2 separate regions of the Homo sapiens genome follow, and region 2 is linked to region 1. Evidence: promoter capture Hi-C in human tissues and cell types (Jung and others, 2019). All regions are on one chromosome and are shown on one strand. The core of a region is centred on a gene start or on the middle of the fragment in contact, and the rest is flanking DNA. Distances in the headings are between cores, read along the strand shown.

The links. Contacts are between HindIII fragments. The study calls those that stand out against the background at their distance.
Region 2: a fragment that was not itself captured here is called in contact with the fragment with the promoter of DSCC1 in region 1 in 2 of the 25 tissues and cell types used here (dorsolateral prefrontal cortex and hippocampus).

What each region holds. Positions count from the first base shown.
Region 1 is chr8:119,853,439-119,857,730 of GRCh38, forward strand. DSCC1 (DNA replication and sister chromatid cohesion 1) reads right to left here and starts at 2,456. Exons shown (of 9, transcript NM_024094.3): 1 at 2,176-2,456. The coding sequence starts at 2,357. It overlaps LOC105375728 (a long non-coding RNA gene), which reads left to right. Exons shown (of 4, transcript XR_928590.3): 2 at 1,237-1,364; 3 at 1,968-2,441. RefSeq lists an enhancer at 2,128-2,437 and a silencer at 2,548-2,607. The HindIII fragment of the contact is 8,457 bases long and covers 1-4,292 here.
Region 2 is chr8:120,044,010-120,048,301 of GRCh38, forward strand. All of the region lies in intron 8 of DEPTOR (DEP domain containing MTOR interacting protein), which reads left to right. Among named protein-coding and RNA genes, the nearest start is that of COL14A1, 79 kb to the right of the region's middle. RefSeq lists an enhancer at 3,597-4,292. The HindIII fragment of the contact is 3,861 bases long and covers 283-4,143 here.

The sequences.
Region 1 (4,292 bases), core at 1,206-3,705:
AGATGGGCAAGACAGATCCATAGAGGCCAAGAGGCCAAATGGCACTACATGGCATCTTGTGCAAACTGCTGGAAAGAACACAAGACAAAGCATCCTGAAGCTTCAGTCAAGCTGTCTCAATTTTCTACAACATGCTAAAGTGGTACTTCTCAAATTTATGCATAGGCATCTTAGAGAGTGTTGTTCAAAAGCAGAGTGGGATACACTGGGTCTAGGATGGGACCCAGGGTCCCGTATTTCTAACAAGTTCCCGAAGAAAGGCCAAGGCCAAGCTGCTGCTCATGGTACCCCACCCAAGTGTCGTCCTTGTTTTGTTCTGAGTACCCCCTCACAATCAAAGGAGCACATCCTGGCCTAACCATAAGTTGTGTTGCAAAAAAATTGGGACCTTATGAAAAAAAGGATGCAGTGGTGAATGAAAAATATGAAAAGGATATGTTTAAAAACTGTACTAAACCAAAGACTTTGACAAAGGGATTTTGAAGAAAAGCAAGAACGCAGTGGCTCATGCCTGTAATCCTAGCACTTTAGGAGGCTGAGGCCAGAAGATCGCTCGAGAGCAGGAGTTTGAGACCAGCCTGAGAAACATAGCAAGACCCCATCACTACAAAAGAAAAATTTAAAAGTTAGCTGGGTGTGATGATGCACACCTTAAGTCTCAGCTACTCAGGAGGCTGGTGGGAGGATCGCCTGACCCCAAGTAGTCATGGCACCATCATGCAGAGAGCCGTGATTGTGCCACTGCACTCCAGCCTGGCTGACAGAGTGAGACCCTGTTCCCACCACTCTCTCCCCAAAAAAAAGATAAAGAAAAAAGAAGGAAGAGGAAAGGATGAAGGTGAAGCGGAGGAAAAGGAAGGATTAAAGACAAAGATGATGGCAATGACAGGGGAGTTGGTTCTAGCAGTTTTCCTTGTCTGTAAAGCATTTAATTCTCCTGTGCACAACTCGTTTCTTTTGAATAAATAATAAGAAACCTGAAATAGCAGACTGTGTATTTATTTTTGACTAAGTCTTCATTTAAGTAAAAAGAATAAAAGGTTTTTTAGATTCCTAATGCTAATAATGCTTAATAGGCCCAAGTACCTAGTCTTTAACATTTATTTCTCTAACTGCACTACCCCCACTTTGAAATATTTTGTTTATACCATCACTCCCTACACCCCAAAATTAAAAACACACGTTTCCAGGGCCTGTTTTTATTTTTTTGTTTTTGTTTTGTTTTGTTTTTGCCAGCTAGATTAACTAGAACTGGACCGAGAGAAAGTCCTCACACCTGAGTTCCTTTCTCAACTCTCCACCAACTGAACCGGGATGGAAACAGACTAGTGAAGTTCTTTCAGTTCCCTTAAAGGTACTTTGAGGTATATAGCAGGTATCTGAAGAATGGCCAGTTTACTCTAACACTCTTTGGTGGGCAAAGTACGAAAACTGAAAGACAGCCTAAAGGATTCCATTAAGAAAAAAGAGAAAAAATAGCCTAATAAAATATAGGTGTCGGAGGACCAATTGTGCAAAAGAGAATCAAGCTGGAGCTCCCTATTTTGCAGGAGCTGGGGCTGCACAGGGTGGAGGGATATAACGATTCTCTAGACTTCTCAAGACTGCCTTTAAAAAACTACCTCAACTTCGACTTCTAATCAATGATCTTGCAGCAAGTTTGTATCTGACCTGGAATTAGAAACAGCTTCAGATCCCTACTAAGCAAGTTTGCTTCGGGGTGGGTAGGGGTCTCACCCAATTACCAAGTCTGTAAGCTGATTCCCAGCACTTCCTATCTATCATCTGAGTAAAATAAATATAAGTGGAAGGCAAGAGTTCTATAAACATTGGGTATCACCACTGTATTTTAAGGTAGAGTGACAGGTGTCCTGTAGAGTCCCTGTAATCACCGGTAACTCTTCAAAAACTTCACGGAGGTTGTATTAGTATTTCCTGACTTGCTCCCGCTGACACATGCCTCCAAGGTCAGCTGGACCAGTGCTACTCATCACCGCAGTGCAGCTAACTGGACGGCCCACCGGAGGCGTGGACTCCTCGGGAACAGGCAGCTTGCTATGAGCCCCCGGCCAGGTCAGTGCATCTCTCTGGCCCTGTTTTCTTATCCCGACTTTCCCCGCTGAGAAAATAACGTGGCCGGCCAGAGGCTGGGGGCGCCGCGTGACCAGGGCTCACCTGTGTCCATCCTCCAGCTGCTGGCACAGCGTGGGCTCCAGCTCCAGCAGGCAGAAGTCGCCGGCTGCAGCGCCGCTGGCCCCAGGGCCGAAGCCCAGGCAGTGCACCGCCGGCAGCAGCTCGGCCGCATTCAGCTTGGCGATCTGCAGCGTCGCATCCACCTCGTCGCGGGTCCTCTTCATCGCAGCGCCGGGTCTAGGAGTCCCGCCGCGCCCGGGTGGCTGCGGGCTTGGCGGGCAAGAAAGAAGTTCCCAAGCAGCCGGAAGGTAGGAAACCTGAGCGTTTGAAAGCGCGCCAAGGCGGCCATGGGCGTGTTTCCGGGGCGGAGCGCGCTGCGGGCCCGCCCGCGGGAAGGCCTGCCGGCTTCTGGGAGCGCGAGCCCCTCCGTGCCCCACGCCGGACCGCGACTGCAGGAAGGAAACGCGGCTTCCCGGGGGGCGGTCTCGGCGGAAGCTCGCAGGGGCAGAGCTGCGACTCGGCGGGTTGGGACACGGATCCCTCGCCCACCCTTTCCGCTGTCCCCTTGCCCGCCCCCCATCCCCGATCTCCGTCCCTGGTTTCCAGCCGATGCTCCCATTTCCTCGCCGTCCACATTGTCTCACCTTCCGCCAGTGGCGGGCCCTGTGATAACCACTTGGCATGTATAATTCCATGAGCCCGTTGCCACAACCCTGTAAGGTGGTGCCTTGGTCATTCCCTTTTGCCAATGAGGAAGCAGGCTCCTTGCTCGTGATGGCAGAGTCAGGAGGTAACAGAGTCTGACTCCAGCCTAGCCGACTGTGGCTCTAAAAGCTTCCTGCGGGGTTTTGTGCAAATAACCCATGCTCGGGAGCGAGGCCCTGGGAAGGAGTATCTCGCTTCTTTGGGTCAGGGCACCATCATATCTGGAGACAACGGCGGGACTAGTCTATTCGTTGAATACCTAGTGTTAACCGAAAAGTGACTGATGCAGGTCTCGTTCAATAGAGGTTTATTTAAGCAAGGTTGAGGACGCACCCGAAGGGAAAAACAAGTCACAGGAGCATCTGTGACTTGTACATTTTCCAAAGGTTTGGGGAACTTCAGTATTAAGAGTTTTAAGAGAAAAGGTTTTCACTATGCACACATACATGAATTGCTTGTAACAGCGTAATGTGTAAACTTTCCCAGAGATGCTTAGGGAATCGTTGAGGGCCCTGGCTGTCCCTGAGAGCTAAAATAGTCTGGGAGGAATCACTTAAGAGATGGTGACCTCCTACTAGTTAGTGCAAATCAGACCTTGCTTGAAGTGAAAGAAAGTGGTGGGTAAGGTGTTGAATTCAAAGGATCTGAGCAGACATTTTTTTCAATTCTTGGGTAAAATGATACGAAAATACCAGAGTAGGGCATCCCAGGAGTCTGGGCAGTGCTTTCGTTGGTGGTGGAAAGATTGGTTCATGTGACCTACTTCTTCACTAGCCTCTTTTACATTTGAATGCATAGGAATTCGGTGGAATGAAATCCTGAATGTGACAGTGGTTGCCTGATAAGAAGTTATTATTGAAGGGAATCAACCATTGTAGTTGCTCTATTAAATGGGAAACATTCCCTACAACTAGAAGCAGTGTCAACTAGAACCCTGACATTTACATCAGACAGGCATGGCTGCGAATCCCAACTCTCTTCAGAACTTTGTGACCTAAGGCAATTTACCTAATTTCTCTGAGTACAACTTCCTTATCGATAAAAAAGCACATAAGACCTACATTCTTAAGATGTACATTCTAAAATGCATGGCTGCTTAATAAATGGCAGCAGTTCTTTTTGTTTTTATGTATTAATCATTATGAATTTAATTTCCAATTAATGGTATGAAATTATTGCCATTAATTTGATATTCTGTCAGGGAGCTGGACCTGTGTTCCTCTCATAAGACAAAATGATGATAGTTTTTATTAATTCATTCTTTAAAATTATGTTAATATGTTTTTCTAAAGTAAGAAATTTTCTGTACCTTTTCAAAAAACGATTGAAGCTGGCTTAATCATTCATCTGGTAGCAGGAAAAAAATATTCTTTATCAGGTAAAAAAATGAACAGTTATAATAAATTTCAAAAGTTCTGTTCATGAGAACAGAATCAGCTAAAATTGATTCTGTT
Region 2 (4,292 bases), core at 963-3,462, 190 kb after region 1:
TTAAAAAAAGAGATTGCATTGGGGATGGTGGGTTGCCAGTGACAGAAATCAGCTAGCCTAACAAAAAAAAAAAAGAAAAAAGAAATTGATTAGAAAGATATTAAGTATGTAAAACAAAGGCAGATCCAGAGAACCAAGCTTTTTATTTTTATTTATTTATTTATTTTTTTGAGATGGGGGTTTTGCTCTTGTTGCAACCTCCACCTCCCAGGTTCAAGTGATTCTCCTGCCTCAGCCTCGCAAGTATCTGGAATTACAGGCATGCACCACCATGCCCAGCTAATGTTTCGTATTTAATAGAGACAGGGTTTCACCATGTTGGTCAGGCTGGTCTCGAACTCCTGACCTCAGGTGATCTACCAGCCTTGGCTTCCCAAAGTGCTGGGATTACAGGCATGAGCCACCGTGCCTAGCCTGGAGAACCAAGCTTGATAAAGGACAGGAACCAAGGCAGATCTGGGGACCCAAATACCAGAGCAAATGAACTTTCCTGTGTTACTCAGCTCCACAGTCAGTGGTCCAGGAGACAGAGTCTGACTGGCCAAGCTTAGGGTCAGATGACCCTGTGAATAGGGGGAGGGCAGGGCATGTTGGTTGACATTCCTATCCATACTGCCCACAGCAGAGGAAAGGTGATACCTGAAAAGAATATCAAGTCAACTGTAGTGAAATGAAGCTGGATAACCAAAAACCAACAGATGTGTCACCATATGACTTTTAGGACAATTTTTATTAAGTGTGTAAAGTACTTGGATTGGCACTTGAGAAATACTAGGTTTTTCAATATATGACTGAATTGATTGAGAGGTTGCCTGCTATTTTGAAAAGGATCCTGCCTGTGATACTCTGCCTCCTAAACTAAATTGTAAGCTTCGTGAAGGCAAAGATGCTGGTATTTATTAGGTTGGTGCAAAAGTAACTGCAGTTTTTGCAATTAAAAGTTGCAAAACCACAATTGCTTTTGCACCTACCTAATAAATCTTATTTAAGTTCTCCACACACTAGTTGGTACAAGATGTCATGGGCTTTTTCTCCAGAACACCTGTGACAGAGGGTCTTCACCTGATCCTCTATACCCCTAGAGATGTGCTCAGGTGGCAGCACAAGTAAGAAGGTTTGTGTGAAATGAGCAGTTCACGGTGTGCTTGCTCTGACCCCACTCTTGACTGGCTGCTCTGGACAGCATGTGGGAACGCAAGGGAGTGAGACTGTCTTTATGCCTAGGGTAGCCCTGAATCAGCCTTACTTTATGAAAGAGTGAATTAGTCACAAACTTTGGCATTTGAGAAATGTGTGTGTGCATACACTTAGAAAACAAAAACAAGAAATGACCTTTTTCTGTTTTTCTAATTTTTTTATTTTTTATCTTTTATGTTTTTTAGGCAGGATCTCACTTTGTCACTCAGGCTGGAATGCAGTGGCATGATCTTGGTTCACTGCAGCTTCAACCGCCTGGGTTGAAGCGATACTCTTGCCTCAGTCCCCCAAGTAGCTGGGACTACTGGCGTGTGCCACCACACCTGGCTAATTTTTTATTTTTATTTTTGTAGAAACAGAGTTTCGCCATGTTGCCTAGGCTGGACTTGAACTCCTGAGCTCGAGTGATCCGCCTGCCTTGGCCTCCCAAAGTGCTAGGATTGCAGACGTGAGCCACTGCACGTGCCCGGCCTGTTTTTCTAAAATTAAATTCAGTTGAAGTGACCATCACCAAGGTTGATGACAAGTTCAATGTCAGATCATTTTGGTGTCCCTTGCCTATGTCCTTCCCGTTTGAGATCATGTGCACCATAACCCACCACAGCCCCCATCCCAGGGCTTTTAGGCAGTCCAGTAAAATGAACCCTGACCAGTATTAGTGACTGGTGCCACTGGCCCTTGGCCAGACAGCCCTGCTGACTGCCCTTTTCCTACCCCTGAACACCTGGGTAAAGGTCCTGTGCAGAGTTCACCAGGTGCTCATCCTCCCACACATACAGCCTTGACCATCCTAGCTTCTGAGGCCTCCAAGAGCTCTGCAATCAAGAGGTGCACAGGACCCCATCTTGAACCAAACCAGCCTCTCCCTTCTAGACAGAAGGGAGATCCTTGTAGACCAAGAATCTACCCACTGTTAGCATCAGGGCCCTCTTCCCTTCAATGTTTATTGTTTTGTTTTGTTTCATTACTTAACTAAGAGCTTTATGGAGATATAGTTCACATACCATGCAATTTATCCATGTAAACTGTAGAATTCAGTAGTTTTTAATATATTCACAGATTTATGTCACTATTACAACAATTTTAGAGCATTTTTATCACCCCTAAAAGAAACCCCGTACCCATTACCAACCACTTCCATGCCCCACCCCACCACCCCTGCTCCCAACCCTAAGTAATCAATAATCTACTTGCTGTCTCTGTGGATTTGCCTACTCTGGACATTTCATATAAATGGGCTCTTACACTCTATGGTCTATTCTGACTGGCATCTTTTACTTAGCATAATGTTTTCAGGGCTCACCCATGTTGTAGCATGTTGTATGTTCCATTTTATGGCCGAATAATATTCCACTGTATGGATATACTGAATTATATTTCTCCTTTCATCTGTCTTTTTAAATTTTTTAAATATATAGATATATATATTTTGTAGAGACGGAGTCTCACTATGTTGTCCAGGCTGGCTCAAGCAATCCTTCTGCCTCAGCCTCCCAAAGTGTTAGGATTACAGGCATGTGCCACCACGCCCAACCTCCTTTCATCTGTTGACAAACATTGGGGTCCTTCAGTTCTTGAAGCTTCAAGCCACCCTGTCTTCAACGCTTTTCCCTCTGGTGGCCATAGATCAGGGACCACAAACTCACATGCCTGTCAGCCAGGTGTTAGGAAGATAGGAAGCCGTAAGGACTGTGGCAAATGAGTGTCCATGCCATGTGTAGAACAGGCAGGCTCTACTCAGCCATGGCCACATGGCCATCTACACCTGGTATGATCACAGCTTCTGATTGTCCCAGAGAAGCCAGAGTCTGGGTTTTTATTTATTTATTTATTTTGAGACAGAGTCTTGCTTTGTTGCCCAGGCTAGAGTGCAGTGGCAGAATCTCGGCCCACTGCAACCTCTGCCTCCCAGGTTCAAGCAATTCTCCTGCCCCAGGCTCCTGAGTAGCTGGGATTACAGGTGTGCCACTACACCTGGCTAATTTTTGTATTTTTAGTAGAGATGGGGTTTCACCATGTTGGCCAGGCTGGTCTTGAACTTCTGGCCTCAGGTGATCTGCCCGCTTCGGCCTCCCAAAGTGCTGGGATTACAGATGTGAGCCACTGCACCCAGCCCAGAGTCTGGATTTTTATGCAAAGATTTTCCAAATTTTATTTTATTTTTTACTTTTATTTTTTGAAATGGAGTTTCACTGTTGTTGCCCAGGCTGGAGTGCAATGGTGTGATCTCGGCTCACTACAACCTCCACCTCCCGGGTTCAAGTGATTCTTCTGCCTCAGCTTTCCAAGTAGCTGGGATTACAGGCATCCGCCACCACGCCCAGCTAATTTTTTTGTATTTTTAGTAGAGACGGGGTTTCACCATGTTGACCAGGCTGATCCACCCGCCAGGCTGATCCACCTCAAGTGATCCACCTGCCTCGGCCTCCCAAAGTGCTGGGATTACAGGCATGAGCTACTGTGCCTGGCAGATTTTCTAAATTTTAAATGCTGGTCAATTAAAACAAACATGATGTGTGACAGAGGACACACAATTGTGGTTAAGACTAAATGCTGAGGCCAAGTGTGGTGGCTCACACCTATAATCCCAGCACTTTGGGAGGCCAAGGTGGGAGGATCACCGGAGGTCAAGAGTTCAAGACCAGACTGGCCAACATGGCGAACCCCCTCTCTACCAAAAATACAAAAAATTAGCTGGGCATGGTGGCACACACCTGTAATCCCAGCTACTCGGGAGGCTGAGGTGGGAGGATCGCTTGAGCCTGGGAGATGGAGGAGATCGTGCCACAGCACTCCAGCCTGGGCAACAGAGGGAGACTCCATGTCAAAAAAAAAAAAAAGTAAATGGTGAAATGTGATCCCTGAGCGATGCGGAGACATGGCTAATCTCAGGGAGCCTGCGAAGGGTCAGCTGGAGAGGGCACTCACCTGGCAACTCCTGCCCTCTTATTTGGCAGTGCAAAAAGGCTATTCATCTTTTTGGAAAAAGAAACCCCTGTATCTGTGGAAAAGACAAGGGATTTGAAATTTCCAAGTCTAGGGTCTAAAGCTCTGGGTTGGGAAGGAGGTGAAATTCTTCTCATTCTTTGGCTCAT